Regions from separate parts of the Homo sapiens genome. Here regions 1 and 2 are each linked to region 3. The links are contacts of gene promoters, found by promoter capture Hi-C in blood cells and fetal thymus (Javierre and others, 2016). All regions are on one chromosome and are shown on one strand. The core of a region is centred on a gene start or on the middle of the fragment in contact, and the rest is flanking DNA. Distances in the headings are between cores, read along the strand shown.

Region 1 (3,926 bases), core at 1,196-3,695, 180 kb after region 3:
TGGTTGTCAGAGAGAGAGAGAGAGAGTGTGCGTGCGTGTGTGTTTGTGTGTGTGTGTGTGTGTGTGTGTGTGTCTGGTAGGTAGGGGTCAGAGATGCTGCTACACATCCCACAGTGCATAGGACAACCACCCCATGAAAAAATGTCAATAAAGCCACTTGGAGGACCCCTCTGTTAGACTGAGCCCCCCAAAATGCTTCTAAAATCCTGGCATATAGCTAACTAGGAGAAGTCACAGCGTAAAAGTAAAAAGCTGGTCTGGCTAAAGCTTTGGGGCCTATTTGAATCCAAGGTCTGTCCTGGGGTGGGGGCTGGCATTAAAAGTCAAGGGGGACCCTTCTTTGCCTTTGCCAGCCCTGGCCATCCCTCTCATTTTCACAGACACGTGCCACCTGTTTTCTGCCTTATACTGTCTCACCATCTAGTGGTCACCTGAAATATCAATTCACCTTCACCATCTTTGGGCCCTTCTAGAGCCAGTCATTTAAAAATTCCCATGTTGGGGGGCAGTGGGCAAAAGGAACCCCCTGAATGACGTCAATGATTTAATTAATAAGTGAATTCAGCATCTTGAAGGCCCTAGTAGAGCCACAGAAAGAGCAGCTATAAGGAATTAGGATGGACACTTCCTAAGATTTCAAAAGCCCATGAAGGCCCCCCCAAAAAAATCGAGGGGCTGATTATAAATAAGGTCTGTCTTTTGAAAAGAGAAACCCACAGGGCTTTCTGCTTAAATCCCTCGGACACAGATGTTACATAACCATAGATTTTAAAAAAGGTATCTATTTAAAAGGATGTGTTCAAGTGGTCTCAGTAATGTAAGTACCTATATACTTCCTAAATAACACTATCTATTCTTGACAGGTTTCCTGTTTTCATTTTTTTCAACTGGACCACCAGCTACTACAACCCTAGAAAAATGGAGGCACAGATATGTGGGTCCCAGAGCCCTGGGGGAGCTGGAATGGATACTCGCTAACACACGGGACACGAGATTCTCTTTCCTTTGGAAGGGTCCTGTCCATGGCCCTTCTTGGGTTCTGGACTGTCCTACAATGCCTGACTTTAGTTTCTGTGGATCATGATAAGCATTATTCATTTTTTCCCCCTCAAATATCCCACAGCTTCAAACTTACCTGAATGCAGGTTCCCTGTAAAAATACCATCATGTAATTTGCACATTAGCAATCAGTTTGATGAATGGCAAAATCGTTCAAATGGAAAAGAGGAGAGAGATAGTGTGGTCTTTTGATGGAGGGGGAGAGGCAAGAGCCAGATAAATCAGAAGAGAGAGGCGAGGCTCTTGCAGCCCAAGTCTTAATTTCCTTGTAAGAATCGATGCTCACTCAGTGGTGACACTGAGCTTGTGAAAGCTCAACTGTGACACTCTTTAGAAAGTAGTACAGAGATTTTTTTCCTTCCCATTATCAACTCATTAAAGGAAGTTAAAAGTACTTACTCTGTCCCACACACAGTGTGTGTGTGACAATGTCGGAAACATTGACTGACTCATAATAAATTTGAGATTGGATAACAATTTATACTACCTTTATACCTCTCTCCTCGCCCCAAATTGAATCATTAAAAAACATTTAGTAAGATCCAATGTGCAGTTCTGTGGGCAGAACTCCACAAGTCAAAATACTCCTGAATTTAAATACTCCTGAGGTTTAACAAATTACTCTGCAATGCAATTTGGGATTTTACTCTAAGGAAGTACAACAGAGGCACACTCCCTTAATTTCCATTGCCCTGTCACAGATCAGTTGCCTAACATTCTTCCCATAGCATAGCTCCCAGTTGTTGCATGTAGAAAAGCGCTCCACTGATTCTAACTTGAAAGGTGTGTGACTCGTGTGTGCTCAAAGAGCATGTGACGATCAACATAATGAAAAGTCAAACATTGTTTTGTTGTGTTGTTCCCTACCTCTTTCTTGGAGGTCTCTTCATCTTCAATTCCCATGAGCTGGCCTGGTTCACCATCTGGCTGTTGGAAAGGAAACTAAACACATTTTCTTTCTTTCTTTTTTTTTTTTTTTTCATGTGTAATAACCATAGAACAATCCAAGCTCAGGTCCTTGAGCTCAGCCTCGGTATTGAGTTGATTTATAGTTAGGAGCTAATCAAAACAGAAGGGGGAGCTGGATAGGCAGGGGTGACAGGTGACACTTTTACAGGACAAGTCAAAAAGTAAGTTATCTCCTCATCTCTCTCTGGCACATCATTCACCTGAGAGTGACTTCACACAATTATAAATGTGGCAAGGTGGCATTCGTCTACTGCTTGAGTTGACCTTTATTTACAAAATGTAAACAAAGAATGTACTCTGAAAGGTGGAGACAGAAAGACAGAATGAGATGGCTGGCACTTTTAGAACTTACATGTTAATAGTCTAATGAGAAATGCAAAAAACAGAAAAACAAAGACACAAACAAAAAAAAAACCCAGCAACAACAGAAAACTAACCAAACCCAAAACCTCACTTGGAGCAGGGAGAAAAAAAAAAATCTAGGAGGAAAATAAATTTCTAAAATTAAAAGTCGAGGCTTGGTATGGTGGCTCACACCTGTAATCTCAGCACTTTGGGAGGCCAAGGTGGGCAGATCACCTGAGGTCAGGAGTTCAAGACCAGCCTGGCCAACATGGTGAAATCCCATCTCTACTAAAAAATATAAAAGTTAGCTGGGCATGCTGGCAGGCACCTGTAATCCCAGCTACTGGGGAGGCTGAGACAGGAGAATCACTTGAACCCGGGAGGCAGAGGTTGCAGTGAGCCGAGATCATGCCACTGTACTCCAGCTTGGGCGACAGAGTGAGACCCTGTCTCAAAAAACAAAAAACAACAAAAAGAACCCAAAAAACCCAAAACATGTTTTGGGGTACTTATATGTGCCAAGCACTGGGTTGAACATGTTACCCTTTAAAAAAGACTCCAGATTTCTCAAATTGTAACTGCTTCTAGTAGCTGGCCCTCTTTTTGGGGGAATTAAGAAAAAAAGGCCAGGTGCCATGGCTCACACCTGTAATCCCAGCACTTTGGGTGGCTGAGGCGGGCAGATCATCTGAGGTCAGGAGTTCGAGACCCGCCTGACCAACATGGTGAAACCCCGTCTCTACAAAAAATACAAAATTAGTGGGGCGTGGTAGTGCATGCCTGTAATCCCAGCTACTCGGGAGGCTGAGGCAGGAGAATCGCTTGAACCCGGGAGGCGGAGGTTGCAGTGAGACAAGATTGCACCACTGCACTCCAGCCTGCGCAACAAGAGCAAAACTCCGTCTCAATAAAAAAAAGAATATATCCTCTTTTTGAAATACCTCTCCTCTCCTTTGTTCAGGGGCTTCTTTCCCCCAATTTATATTCGTGCCTTCCTTCCAGTCTCTAAATTGCATAAAGGCCACTTAGGACTTGCAGACTTTTCAGCAGAACTCCCAAAGAGAGGCTCAGGTCCATTCTCCTCTTCCTTCCTAAAGAGAACATGATCTTATGCTTAGGGTGACCACAGGCCAGAACAGGAATCTGATGGGAACAAAAGCTCCATTCAGTCTAATTTAATGAAATCTGTGAAGGTGCGTGTTAGGGCCAGAGTCTCCTAGTCCCTATTCCAAGGGGTCAGAGATGGTCAATTAGGCTGCCCAGTGCTTTTAGTTCCCTCCGTTGACTTGTCTTAATTGATGGTGAGGACCTTGTGACATCAATTGGCCCTGTCCCTTCTCTCTTGAAAATTGCTACTCCTCCTGAGAAATTTGATTTTTAAATGGGCAAATGGCGTGAGTGGGTTTGAGAGGAACCTCACATTTGCTACTACAGCTAAAAGAAACCAAGAAGTGTAGAAACGAATTGTTGTTCACTACTGATGTGTCTCCTGAGAGTTATTTAGAGGCATTTGAAGAGCCACAATTTTGCTGGGGTTGGGGGTAAGTTTTATT
Region 2 (2,614 bases), core at 1-2,500, 150 kb after region 3:
CCGGGACACGTCTGCTCCGCGCACACACAGTCAGTCGGTCCTGCCCGAAACGCACCAAGTCGCGCCCAGCGGCAACCGCCCTCCCTCCTCCCCTCGCCGCCCCCCTCCCGACTCCGGCGCCACGACTCCCTTGCGCCCCCTCCCCCCCACTGCACCACCTTTACCGCTCCGATCCTTTCCGAGGGGCTGATGTCACCAGCCCCCCCACTCTCCTCGGCCACTTCTCCCCGCCAAAGCCTCCCTTTGGCGAGGCCCCCTCCGCCACCACGGCGCCCCCCAGCGTCACCCCCTCCTCTCCTCGCCCCTTTCTTCCCCTCTTTCCCTCTCCCAACAAATCTCACACCCCACGGAGGCGGGTCCCCCTCCCTCTACCCGCCACCCGGTTTCCTGTCCCCGAAACCCTCTTTTTGTCGCAGTCTCCGGAGCCCCATGGGCTCCCCCTCCCCCTCCCCAACACGCACCCAAACCCCTGGCGTCGTGTAGGCCTCGCGGAAAAAGAGAGAAAGAGAGAAAGAGGGGGAGAGCGAGAGCGAGAGCAAGAGAGAGACACTGAGCGGGCAGGCCGGGGGAGGGGGACCCGCGCCCGCGTCGCCACGGCCCCCCGCCCCGTTTTTGAGCCCCCGCCCGGCCGAATCCGCGCCCCTGGGTCCCCCTTCCGGCCTCGCCCCCCACAGACAGAGCCCGCGAACGGGCGGGGGGCTCGGGAGCGCGCGCCCGGGGCGGGGGGCGGGCTCGGCGCGCGCGGCCTGCGGGGCGCCCTTCGAGGGCCCCCGGGCCGGGGCCGGCGCCCCCCGCCCGCCCTTACCCAGCAGCAGCAGGCGGTGCGTGGCCCGGTAGACCTGCTTGTCCTTCTGCAGCTGCTTCTCGATCTTTTTGTTGGCCTCACGCTGCGCCTTCTCCTCGTTGCGCTGGTCCTCGGTCTTACTGTTCCCGAGGCAGCCCATGGCGGCGGCGGCGGCGGCGGGGCGCGGCCGGGCTGCGGCGGCGGCGGGCGCGGGCGGCCTCACGCGGGCCGGGAGGGCCGGGGCAGCGCCGGGCGGGCGGGCCGGGCGCGGGCTCGGCTCCTCGGCAAGGAGCGCGCGGGGCGGACTGCGGGCCGCGGGCCGCGGGGCGCGCGGACGGGCGGGAAGGGGAGGGTGTCGGTCGGACCGAGGGGCGCGCGCAGCTCCCCGCCCCTCGAGCCGAGGCCGAGGGGGCTGATGGCCGCCGCCGGGCCGAGGCGGACCAGAGCAGGAGCTGCGGGAGCTGCTGCCGCCGCTGCCGCCGCCGCCGCTCTTATTGCCTCGGCCGGGCCCCCGCCGCCGCCCCGAGCCAAAAGCGCCGCGGCGGGCGGGGGGAGGCGGGGGGAGGAGGAGGCGGCGGCGGCGAGGGGGGTGGAAGGAGGAGGAGGAGGAGGAGGGCCGAGGAGCGGCCGCGGCGGCGGCGGCGGCTGGGAGGGCGGGAGCCGGCGGAGGGAGGCGGCCCCCCGGGAGCCCGGGGAGGGGGTCCCTCCGCCCGCGCCCGGCCGGGGACGGGACGGGCCGGGGAGACGCCCCCCACCCCCCGGGCTCGGGCAGCAGCCCGGCTGAGCCGAGGGGGGAGAGGGGGCGTCTCCGCGCCAGTGACGACCCCTCGCACGACGCCAACGCTCCACCCCCCGGACCGCGTCGCCCGGCGCCCCCGAGGCCTCCTCCCCCTCCCGCGGGCGCCGCCGAGGGGCTGGGGTGGGCGGAAGGGGAGGGAGCGCGCGCCCGGACTTAGGAAAATTTTCGAAAGAGCGAGAGACACAGAGAGCCAGAGAGCAGGAGTGTGGAAAAAGCGAGGCGAGCACGAACCAAAGGACAGAGCAACCGAAAAGGAAAATGTGTCCACACACACACACGAACACGAATAAAAACCCACACTACACAGCGATGGTGGTGTCTGGTGGCGGTGGCGGGGTGGGGGGTCTGACTAGATGAGCCGCTCCTCGCGCCCCCGGCGCCGGGCGCCATGGCCCGAGCCGAAGGCGCCTCTGGCCCCGGAGCGCCCGCGGCCTCTGCGCTTGGCGCGGCCGCCCAAGTAGGAGAAGAAGGCGCAGCCCAGGAACACTCGGAAGCAGCAGGTCGCCCCGAACACGAAGCCGCAGCCGCGGCCCTGCTCCGTGCGCTTCTGCAGCAGGAAGTTGAGCACCCACGAGGGGCTGCGCACCGAGAAGACCAGGAACACCACGAGGGGCAGGTGGGCGCTCAGCGCGCCAGCCTTGAGCGGCCCGGGCCGCCACACGATGCCCCCAACGCGCGGCGCCGCGTAGTAGGCGTCGTCCTCGTCGCTCGAGTCCGTGTCCCAGTCAGCCCAGGCCCTACTCGTGCCCCCGGCGGCGGCGCCCTCCTCGGCGCCCCCGACGGCGCCCTCCTCGGCGCCCTCGTCGTCGTCGGCGGCGGCCGCGGCGGCGGCGGCCTCGGGGCATCGGGCCTCCTCCTGGGCTTCTGGCACCTTCTTCTTCTTCTTCTTCAGCATCTTCTCCATCTTCTTCCTCTCCTTCTCCTTCTTCTTCTCCTCCTTTCGCCTCTGCTCCAGCAGCTTCTTCTCGAGCTTCTTGCGCTCCTTGTCTGTTAGGAACTTTTCGGGGAGCGCCTCCCGCGCCGGGTTCTTG
Region 3 (4,605 bases), core at 958-3,457:
GGGTGTGGAGATGTGTGTCATCCCTGGGGCAAGGGCCATAACTACCAGTCACCTAGTTAATTTCAAATCAAAGTAATGATCTGTTGTTAATGACTTCTCTGTTTCTGTGAGAGGCACTGTCAAGTAATGCAGTGCTTAGGTATCTAAAAACCATTAATTTGCTTCCTCTGTGTCTCCTAACAGAGTCTCCAGGAGATAATCATTATGTAAGTCTTACCCTCCAAATCCAAGCAAGAGGTGGTATTATTTCTACCATGAGGAGACACGCAGAGAAGACAATTGGGTCCTGGATCTCCATCTTTCCATGCCCCATCCCACCACTCTAGATCTAGTAAGTAAAATTAGACTGATATAGTATGTGTGTTGGGGGCACGGGAGATAGGTGTCATTTAATTTTCATGACTAAAACACAGAAATTTTGAACTTGAGAGCAGAATAATGTTCTCTAAAATAAACAGAACAGGAATGCTGAATGGTGAACAGCCTCATGGAACTCCAGGAATAGCAGGGACAGGCTGTTCTGTGCTGATGGTTCTTGAACCAGTGTTTTTAACACCCAGCGACGTTAACTGCATCTTAGTCAAGGCTGAGGTACTCTCAGTAGCCCTTAAAGCATTACCTCCCCAAGAAATCACTCTTAAGTACTGTAGGTTTAAAAAAAGAAAATCTCAGGTACCACAAATTGCACTTAGCAACTACCCAACCATATTATTTCCTTCCTGTCTAATGTAATTTTTGTTTTCCTGTATAAAGGACTTATGTTATTTTGAAAAATTATCCTCCCTCCTAAATTAACCTGGCTTTTTGTCTTTAACAATCAAACAAGCTAAGAACAAGAATGAGGTGGTCCTTCTAACAAGCTTCTAAGTAACTAGATGTAAAGATTTTCCTCCATAACCTTCATTGAAAATGGCAAATTGTTCTGTTAGGAGGTAGACGGCTGTGGAGAGTGCAGGAGAGCAGGGTGGGAAGCCATATTCTGAAAGCTAAGCCAGGCAGTCTGTTCCCTGGACAAGGCTCATCTCTGAATGAAACCACATGCCACCTCCTCCTGCCCCAGCAATTCTTAGTCATTCTTTCATCCATTGATGCAACAAATAATTGTCATTTAGGAAGGGGGAAATCACTGAACAAGTCTGGCAAGAGCCTCGCCCTCAGGGGCTTACAGTCTAGCGGAAGTTACAACAAATAAACTAGATGACTCCATTAATTCATTCATCCCACAAATAGCTATTGATTTTTTTCATTTTTCAATAAGTAGTCATTGAGCCTTGACTATATGGGAGACACTGAGGATGATTTTTGAGCAAGACCGGCAAGATTCTTGCCTTCAAGAACTCAGTTCGATTGTGAATTTTCACAAATAAATTAACAAGATGATGTCAGAGGGGTAAGTGCTATAAAAAATGCAACAGGATATTGTGACGGAGCAGAGCAACAAGGTGAGAAACGGTGACGAGGGAAGTCTCTCTGGGAGAGACATCTCAGCTCAGATCCATCCTATGCACCTAGGGCAAGGTGTGCCCGGCCAGGAAGCTTTTCTACCCGACCCCTGGCACCGTGCTTCCGGACCGCATCCCTCGTAGGGGTATTATTCATGGGCAGGTCTGATGTTAGCTTCTCCGCGTCACGCCTTATTTATCCCCTCCGAGGGCTGCAAGCTCCTGGCGGGCAGGTGGGACTGGCCCAGCTGATCGGCTGGGTGGCTGGTGGATTTGGGAAAACAGCCCGGGCTGACCCAGGAGGTGGCTGGAACTCTCTATAGGGCACCAGGAAATTTTGCACAAGTGACCACCACAACGAACATCTATGTCAGCAGGCTGACCGCATGCGTCCACACGCCTCGAAATGCCAGGCGAGGATGTGCTGGGCCAGAAGGACAAGGAGGGCCAAGCGGGCGCGCAGGCACCTCCTGGACCTGACCCAACTCTGCCCAGAGGTCAAGGCTCGCTACAAGCCCGCCGCGCCTGCGCAGCACAGCGCCCGCGCCGGCCCCTCCAGCTGCCGTCGGCGGCACTGCGCCGGCGCGATGCGCCCGGCGCTAAGAGGCGGGGTTTCCTTGCGCCGCGCGCAAGGCTGGGGCAAAACCCGGGCCGGGATAGGGCGTGGGGCCGCGCGTCTGGACGTCCCTCGCGTCGGGCCCGACAGCGCCTGCGCACTGCGCCGCCGGCTGGGGTGCTGGGGGCGGGGCAGGGGCAGGTGTAGCCTCTGTGCCTCGTTGTCCCCTGGCGCTACCCGGACATCTCTCAGGGTGCCGGCACCATGAAGATCTGGACTTCGGAGCACGTCTTTGAGTAAGTTTGGGGCGCGGGTCGGCTCCGTGGAGGGCAGGCACGCCGGCCCTGGAGTAGAGGCGAGGCAGAGGCGGCCCGCAGGAGGCTTCTAGGCGTCGGGCCTAGCGAGGGGAGCGAACTCTGAAGCCTGCGGGCCCCGGCGACACGGAGGGCAGACCAAGGTCACGACCCCGAGGCGCCCTAGCCGAGGGGACGGCTCCGACCTCCAGACCCAGGCGGCCTTGCGACCGGCAGGGCTACGGGGTCACTTCCGGGCTGTCCCCCACCATGAGGTAGCCTCGGGCCGGCGGCCTCCTGAGGTCCTGGGGGCGTCGCGGAGCACGAAGCCCTTGACAGCACTCAGGGTTGCCCCATCCCGCCCTGTGAAACCACTTTGGGACGTGGACCCGAGGATCCCAAGAGGGAGGTGTTGGTTTTCTCCAGAGTGTACTTTCCCTGGCCGCCGTTTGGGTGGAGTTTCTACCTTCGAATGTGAATTTCGGGTGAACTCTGACCACCAGGATGTGAAGCCTTTTCACAACTCGTTCATCTACGCAGCAGAGCCTTGGATTTGGAATTCAAGGTCTAGCTCTGGCTGTAACAAGCGTGTGACCCTGGGTTACCCATTTTCATCTGAGAGATGGAAAAGGACGATCGTCAGGGCCTACCCGTGTTAGCTCTTTGAGGCCACGTTCAGGAACATCTTTTTGGATAATGTGAACTGTTTACTAACGAAACTAAGCCTTGAACCAGTTGGATGTGGAGAATTATATTCTCTTCTAGGTCCCTGATTCCATTTACAAAAGAGCCACAAATTTAAGCAGCGAAATCCTTTTTTTTCCCGAGTTACCTGCTCTGTTCCGCTGATCTTAATGTCGTTGCCACACTGTTTTAATTAGTATAGCCTTGTAAATAAATATGCTACAAAGCCATTTATGTTTTTAAAACTGTCTCTGAAGGCAAATTTTTTTTAAATTTCTTTTTTGAGGCAGAGTCTCGCTCTGTTGCCCAGGCTGGAGAGTAGTGGCGTGTTCTTGGCTCACTGCAACCTCCGTCTCCCGTGTTCAAACGATTCTCCTGCCTTGGCCTCCCAAGTAGCTGGGATTACAGGCGCCCACCACCGCGCCCGGCTAATTTTTGTATTTTTAGTAGAGACGGAGTTTCACCATGTTGGTCAGGTTGGTCTCAAAGTGATTCGCCCTGGTCAGGTCGCACCTGACCTCAGGTGATTCGCCCGCCTTGGCCTCCCAAAGTGCCGGGATTACAGGTGTGGGCCACTGTGCCCGGCCTCTGAAGGCAACTTTTAAAACGTTGTCCGCATTTGTACTCAGTGGGACACATCCTAGGGCCTGCTGTATCCTGCAAAGTATAGAATACTGGAATCAGAAGGAAGCTTTCTTTTCCCCCTACTGTTTAGTCTTTTTGGGAGGAAAAAGACCCGAAATTTGTGGTCATTTAGATGTTCATTAACCTGGTCGCATTCATCACTAGTCCATTTCAGCTCCGAGGATGTTTAATTTCAGTCCTCTTCCAGGTTTGCATGCTTCAGTCCTCTTCTGGGTTTGCATGCTTCAGAGGTTCTCGGCACTCAGTCTCCCTAGAACTGTCTTCTCCCATATCTTCCCTAACTCTTCTTCCTGGCTCATCCCCTCCTTCCCTCTACACTCTTTCTGCCTTTGTCTTCAGCGCTTCCCTGTCTTTTCCCATTCAGTGTAAATGTTCAGTGAGATTCTGTGTTGGCCTTCCTATATTGGATTTTACCTGTGATCTTAATTTCTTTTTTGTTTCTCTTTTCGTCACAGACTTTTTTTTTGTCCTGGGAGAAGCAGCCCTGATCCGTGCTTTCTCCCCACATAATCTGAGCTGTTTGGTCAAAGTCCCAAATGATAGGTATACATTTATGGCACCCAGATCTGTACCTTGAGCTCCAGCCTCTCTTGAGCTCCGCTTTTCATTTTCAGGTGCCTGTTAGGCATTGCTACCCTCGTGTCCCACAGGCCCTTAAAACTCAGCCTGTCTGAAATTGAAGTCATCATCTCCCCTGACAAATCTGAGCGTTGTTTCTGATCTTTAGGATGTCACTCTCTAACAATGTCTAAGTCATCATTCTACATCTTATCTGTCTTTGATTTTCCAACACTTTTCTTCTGAGGCCTATAGTTGGCATCCAGGTGAAGTCATTCATTGATTCCTTCAACTTATAGAGATGCCCAGTATGTGTCAGCCACTGTTCTTTGGATTGATTACATTTTCATAAGTAAATCAAGACCTCGATGCTGCGCCAGTGGAGTTAATAATGTCCTCACCTCGTTTCAAAGGTGAAGAAGTTGGA

Evidence for each region. The method cuts DNA at HindIII sites, captures the fragments that hold promoters and counts their contacts. A CHiCAGO score of 5 or more calls a contact.
Region 1: a contact is called between a fragment that was not itself captured here and the fragment with the promoter of PRELID3B in region 3, in 4 of 17 cell types (total B cells, naive B cells, naive CD8 T cells and 1 more). The highest score is 7.1, in total B cells.
Region 2: a contact is called between the fragment with the promoter of GNAS here and the fragment with the promoter of PRELID3B in region 3, in 10 of 17 cell types (naive B cells, erythroblasts, total B cells and 7 more). The highest score is 8.0, in naive B cells.

What each region holds. Positions count from the first base shown.
Region 1 is chr20:58,861,076-58,865,001 of GRCh38, reverse strand. LOC101927932 (a long non-coding RNA gene) reads left to right here. Exons shown (of 5, transcript NR_126334.1): 5 at 864-1,246. It also overlaps a transcript of GNAS not described here. Among named protein-coding and RNA genes, the nearest start is that of GNAS, 28 kb to the left of the region's middle. The HindIII fragment of the contact is 4,352 bases long and covers 270-3,926 here.
Region 2 is chr20:58,890,057-58,892,670 of GRCh38, reverse strand. It overlaps GNAS (GNAS complex locus), which reads right to left and starts at 1,250. Exons shown (of 13, transcript NM_000516.7): 1 at 806-1,250. The coding sequence starts at 944. RefSeq lists silencers at 93-182, 1,053-1,272, 1,283-1,782, 1,843-1,992. The HindIII fragment of the contact is 29,581 bases long and covers 1-2,614 here.
Region 3 is chr20:59,040,388-59,044,992 of GRCh38, reverse strand. It overlaps PRELID3B (PRELI domain containing 3B), which reads left to right and starts at 2,207. Exons shown (of 6, transcript NM_016045.3): 1 at 2,207-2,294. The coding sequence starts at 2,263. SLMO2-ATP5E (SLMO2-ATP5E readthrough) reads left to right here and starts at 2,147. Exons shown (of 6, transcript NR_037930.1): 1 at 2,147-2,294. RefSeq lists a silencer at 1,890-2,289. The HindIII fragment of the contact is 2,130 bases long and covers 1,539-3,668 here.